Regions from separate parts of the Homo sapiens genome. Here region 1 is linked to region 2. Evidence: promoter capture Hi-C in human tissues and cell types (Jung and others, 2019). All regions are on one chromosome and are shown on one strand. The core of a region is centred on a gene start or on the middle of the fragment in contact, and the rest is flanking DNA. Distances in the headings are between cores, read along the strand shown.

Region 1 (2,890 bases), core at 70-2,569, 110 kb before region 2:
CACCTGTATTATAGATGATTGCTATGTGGCCCAGATGGGACAGGCTCCAGGATAACCCCAGGACAGCGGGTAGTATGCCACGCTGCTTTTCAGCTCACCCATGCATTTATCCACAAGAACACATCATGAGCTTTCTTTGCGCCAGGTCCAACCCACTGTCCCCAGTGAACTCCACTGGGCCACAGGTGCTGTCACATTCCTCCCCAACTTCCTTGACTGCAGTCATTTTAGTTTCCAGATTAAATGGAAACGTAAGGATTCATCTGATCAAACTGACAGAGTCATGAGAGCCTCCAGAGAGGTCCTCTAGACCATTCATTACAATCTTTTGCTCTGGAAAAAACTGCCCAAGAACAAGAGTGGACCTCACCTGCCACCGAGCTGTTGGCTGACCATGACGGGATGGCTGTCCGCCTCTGGTAGAAGAGGATGTATGCTGTCTGCGTGCAGACCTCATCTTCTGACAGCTGCTGCACATCGCTGTCATCGAAGCAGTACCAGAGGCCGTCCACAGAGTTCTTACAGTACGCTGCCAAAGAGAGCCCGCCATCAGCACCAGGGGAGGCTGCACCAGCCACTTCATGCGACCCACAGACACCATCTCTTTGGCTCATCTAATTAACTCAAGAACGTTTTAAGGCTGCGTATAGCAACACAGAAAGAGATTAAAAAAAAATTCTAAATTCTGTATCACACTCGAGCAAAATATCTTGAGAAATTCCAAACCATTCCAAGTAGATGCAGTTCCAGTTCATCTTAGAAAACACATACTTATTTAAACCAATGGGTCTCAACCAGGGAACTGTGTCTGTGGCGGGGGGAGTGGGATTTGGCAATGAATGGAGATGTTTTTGATTGTCACAACTCAAGGGAGAGGTGCTACTGGCATCTAGTGGGTAGAGGCCACGGATGCTGCTAAACATTCTATAATGCACAGGACAGCCCCCTGCAAGACAAAACTGTCCGACCAAAATGGTGCCAGGGTGAAGAAACCCTGAGTTCAGTGTGTTGCAACATTTTAGTGTCTATTAGAAATAGCAAATAATATGAATAGAAATAACAATATAATGATATGATAGCAGATAAATATAATATGTAACACTTATTATGTGCCAAGCATCTCATTTAATCCTCAGATTTGTTCTCTTATTACTCCCAATTTCCAGAGGTTGAAAAAGATTAATCTGCTTGCCCAAGGTCGTGCAGCTGGTGAAAGGCAGGAGCCCAGCTCATTTCAGGCTTATCAAGTCCTTGGCTTGCACTTGAAGCCCTATCCTGCCCTGCTTCCCTCAGGGAGGAGCACAAACCAGGCTCCATGGAAGTTCCCTGGCAGACTGAGAACACATGAGCTCATGAACGCAGGAGGACTTCTTTCAGTCCAAATTCTAAGCCTGAGCTAGAAATAAAGAACATTCAAGTAGCAGCAAAAACAGACGAAAACTTAAGAGTTCACAAACCCAGTCATCCTGCAAGGATATATCAAAGGGTGTTATAAGCTTGATCCAGAAAAGTACATTATGATCACATTTTCTAAAAATATGCATTTATTTGGGGTGAGAATAAACGAGTGCTAGAATATTTAGCTGAATGCTGGAACAGACTCAGGATGGCCCCAGGGATGGGGCAGATAAGGTCCTGAGAGGCACCAGGAGTGACTCCTTCAATGGGCCATAACCATTTCCGCAAGTATGGAGACTTAAGGGATAAAAGAGACGCGGGTGAGAAAGGGCTACACCAGACAAGTCCCCCAAAATGAGAGCAGAATAAGGACCTATGAACGGAGGCAGGGAAGTTATTTGCAGCTGAGAACTTGCCGGAACCAGAAGGGAAAGAACTTAAAATGTAAGCAGCAAATGGAGCTCTAAGGAAACAGCAATTGGCCAGTGGCGTCAGGTCAGGCTTGATGCACACATGACCCAGCTGGGGAGTAGCTGCTCTTCTGGAGTGGTGAGTGGGAGCAGAGCTGTGAGGGACATGCCCAAGAGAAGGAGACAGAACAGCCTTGCCTCCTTTCAGCCTGCTCCTCTTCAGAATGGCCTCTTCTCAGTCACAGTGTGGAAACTGAGACAGCACAGCAAACTCATTAATTACAAAATAATTCTACTTGCTTTTCTTCCTAGAACTACTTTCTGAAGTATTCTCTAGGCCAGTGCTACTAGAATTATGGCTCACGGACTGACACGAGCCCACACGAGAGAAGCACCAAAAAGGAGAAAAGCATTTAAAAAACTTTTATAGCAATCTGATACTGCCGTGATATTTTTATTGTATTCTTACAAATGCACTAGTTGATAAAGGATTGGAAATTTTAAAGTAGAAAAAACCAAGTTCTTCATCACAGATGGTGTGAGAGGCACTGTTCTAGAATCCTTACACAATCGATTATATCATTATACCATCGATTATAGCTAGAAACAGTGCAAAATAAAGATTACATCAAAATAAACATTCCAGGCCGGCCATGGTGGCTTATGCCTACAATCCCAACACTTTGTGAGGCTGAGGCAGAGGACTGCTTGAGATATGGAGTTCGAGACCAGTCTGGACAACATAGTATAGGCCCTGACTCTACAAAAAAATTTAAAAATTAGGCAAGTGTGGTGGCGCACACCTGTAGTCCCAGCTACTTGGGAAGCTGAGGTAGGAGGATCTTGAGCCCGGGAGGCTGGGGCTGCAGTGAGCCACGATCACACACTGCACTCCAGCCTGGGTGACAAAGTGAGACCCTGTCTCAAAACATAAAATAAACATTCCAAATGAAAACTTAAAAATGGGGATGAGGGGTGAGAGAGCATCAGGAAGAATAGCTTAATGCATGCTGGGCTTAATACCTAGGTGATGGGATGATCTGTGCGGCAAACCATCATGGCACATGTTTACCTAAGTAACC
Region 2 (3,048 bases), core at 85-2,584:
TCCCTATAAAAAGGCAGCTGAAGCTAGGAAAGGTGGCTTACCTCTGTAATTCCAGCTATTTGAGACGCTGAAGTGGGAGGCTCGCTTGAGCCCAGTAGTTGGCAGCTACAGTGAGCTATGATTGCAGCACTGCACTCCAGCCAAGGTGACAGAGGCAGACCCTGTTAAAAAAAGAAAGAGAGAAATAGAGGAAAGAAAGAAAGAAAAAGAAAGAAAGAAAGAAAGAAAGGAAGAAAGAAAAAGGAGGGAGGGAGGGAGGAAGGAAGGAAGGGAGAGAGAGAAAGAAGAAAGAGGGAGGAAGGAAGGAAGGAAGGCAAGCAAGCAAGAAAGAGAAAGGAAGGAAGGAAGGAAGGAAGGAAGGAAGGAAGGAAGGAAGGAAGGAAGGAAGGTGGGCGGGCGGGAAGGCAGGCAGGCAGGCAAGGAAGGAAGGAGGAAAGAAAGGAAAGAAAGAGAGAAAGAGAAAGAAGGACAGGCCAGGCGCGGTGGCTCACACCTGTAATCCCAGCACTTTGGGAGGCCAAGACGCGTGGATCACCTGAGGTCAGTAGTTTGAGACCAGCCTGGCCAACATGGTGAAACCGCGTCTCTACTAAAAACACAAAAATTAATCCGGGCATGGTGGCGCGCGCCTGTAACCCCAGCTACTTGGGAGGCTGAGGCAGGAGAATTGCTTGAACCCGGGAGGCGGAGGTTGTAGTGAGCTGAGATAGCGTCATTGCACTCCAGACTGGGCGACAGAGCGAGACTCCGTCAAAAAAAAAAAAAAAGAAGGAAAGAGGAAAAGAAAGAAGAAGGAAGGAGGAAATAACGAAAGAAAGAGAAAGAAGCAGCTGAAAAGGTCAAAGGATGAGTGGCCTGGCTGAACAGCCCCTGCTGCCTACAGCCGGACGCTGGTGGGCACTGAAGCTGCAGGTCTGGAGGGAGTCCGAGGAGCGAGGCTGCGTGGGATTACTGCTGGTGCTAGGGCAGGCACCTGCCATCTGGACGGGAGTGGAAGGAAGTCGCGGGGCAGTAATAGGGGGCAGCAGGCGCTTTGAGGCGCCTTGGGGTAAGTGCCGCAGAGACCCAGCGGGAATGCAGGATGGCAGGGCGGCCTCGGGGCGGCAGCAGGCACTGCGCGGTGGCCCAGGAAGACGCAGCGCGGCCGGGCTGGGGCGCAGGGCGGCTTCGGGGCGCCAGGGGGCGTTGTGAAGTCGTGGCCCGCTCCGGGCGGTCTCAGGTGCCTGGCGGCCTGGGGAAAGCACCTGGGCAGGTGGGGGCGGGGCCTGGGGAGGCGGGTCCCTAGGGGGCGGGGCCTGGCCGGCCCACAAGAGCCCGCGGTGGCGCTGCCAGGGGATGCTAGCCCGAGAGCGAGCAGAGGAGCAGCGCACCCGCACGAGCCTTGGACCCTTTGGAACCGAAAGGTGAGTTCAGCCGGGTTGGGTCGGACCAGCTCGGGGGTTCTGGGCACTGGAGCGGATGCCGGGCGCCAGGGCGTCGGACGCCGTCAGCGCGGTGGGTGGCCGAGCCAGCATCAGCCGGTGGCGGCTTCCCGGTGCCCGGGATGCTGGGACACCTTGCCCGGGCGGTAGCGGCCAGCTCTCCCGGGTCTACCCACGCCGTGGCCCGGAGCACGAAGCCAGTCGAGAGCCACTCAGAGTCCGGGGGTCTGGGGGTCCCGGGCCACACCTGGCCTCTTTTCTCCGCCCAGCGCCTGTTCAGCCCCCTTCCCTGCCGGGGTGAGTCGCGTGGACCTGTCCGCTACTGTTCCTTCTACCCTCTGGAATGCTTTCTCCGGGGTGACTTGGTGCAGAAAGAAGCAAACACTTGAAGTGGGCTGGTTGGATTCGCTCCAGCGCCTTCAGCCGGCGCTCCCCCGGGGCAGACGTGGCTTCCGCCACAGGACAGCGCCCGCTCGCTCCGCGCAGGGAGGGCAGGGCTGCGGGGTCGCTCGGCAGGAGCTCGGGTCAGGGCCCTGAGGTTGAGTTCAAGTGATTTCTGCACAGGACTCGCCCTTCGGGACGGGCACTGATCGGGAACTCTCCGGTCCAGCGAACCCAACGCTAGACTTGGGGCAAATCTCTCATCCCTCTCCAAGCTTTGGGGTCCTGCACTGTGGGATGGGGGACAGGCAAAGTCGGTGGTAGGTGAGGAGGGGGTGCACGGAGCCGCTGCGATGAGCCAGGGCCCTGGAATTCTAAAGAATCCTTCAAATCCTTTCTACCTGTGTGGTCTTGGGCAAATTACCTAACCTCTGTGCCTCAGTTTCCTTCTCTGTGAAATGGGCCAAGTAATAGCACCTCATATAACTGTAGTGAGGATTAAATCAGGTAGTGTGTGAAAAGGACTGAGTGGGATGCCTGGGAGTACAGAAAGGGATCAATAAGTGATAGCTGCCATTATTGCTGCTTTCCCTGCTGCTGTTATTATTATTAATGATTGAAGAGCAGCCTAGTTAGTCGTTAAAGGGACTCCTAGGTGCAAATCCCAGCTCAGCCACTTTCTAGTGTGACCTTGGGCAAGCTACTTAACCTGTCAGCGTCTGTTTCATTTGTACAATGGAGGTGGTTGTGATACCTACCTCAGACGATTATCGTGAAAATTAAATGAGGTGACAGCTGCAAAGTACTTAGAAGAGTAAGTGCTGGGTATCAGCTAGTAATTCTTCCACCAAGGGTATCACATTGGCTCAGGCTGCATAATCTAATGGTAGCTACAGTCTTGTTTTGCTTTGAAGTTGAAATATTATTTATATGAATATTTTATCTGTTTTGCAAAGAGCAAGATCAGTTCCCTTCCTTCACTTGGGGGCTCCTCTGACATTGTCGACTGATCCATTGGGGTCAAGGTCGGTTCTGGGGAAGGGGCTGATGGGGCAGAGGTACCCCTGAGAGCTGGGGATAGGAGCTTCCAGAATCACAGCTTCTGTTGAACATTCACAGAGGAGGGCTGCAGTTTTATTTGACAAGCAATTGAACCTGGACCTAGATTTTAAAAACAAACTCTCGCTAATTTTTTTCTTTCTTTCCTTCTTCTTTATTTCATTTTTTATTTTTTTGGATTGTAGTG

What was found. Contacts are between HindIII fragments. The study calls those that stand out against the background at their distance.
Region 1: a contact is called between a fragment that was not itself captured here and the fragment with the promoter of SCNN1G in region 2, in 2 of the 25 tissues and cell types used here (IMR-90 fibroblasts and aorta).

The regions. Positions count from the first base shown.
Region 1 is chr16:23,073,352-23,076,241 of GRCh38, forward strand. USP31 (ubiquitin specific peptidase 31) reads right to left here. Exons shown (of 16, transcript NM_020718.4): 14 at 371-529. Among named protein-coding and RNA genes, the nearest start is that of USP31, 75 kb to the right of the region's middle. The HindIII fragment of the contact is 7,379 bases long and covers 1-2,890 here.
Region 2 is chr16:23,181,411-23,184,458 of GRCh38, forward strand. It overlaps SCNN1G (sodium channel epithelial 1 subunit gamma), which reads left to right and starts at 1,335. Exons shown (of 13, transcript NM_001039.4): 1 at 1,335-1,403. RefSeq lists a silencer at 1,057-1,306. The HindIII fragment of the contact is 8,387 bases long and covers 1-2,674 here.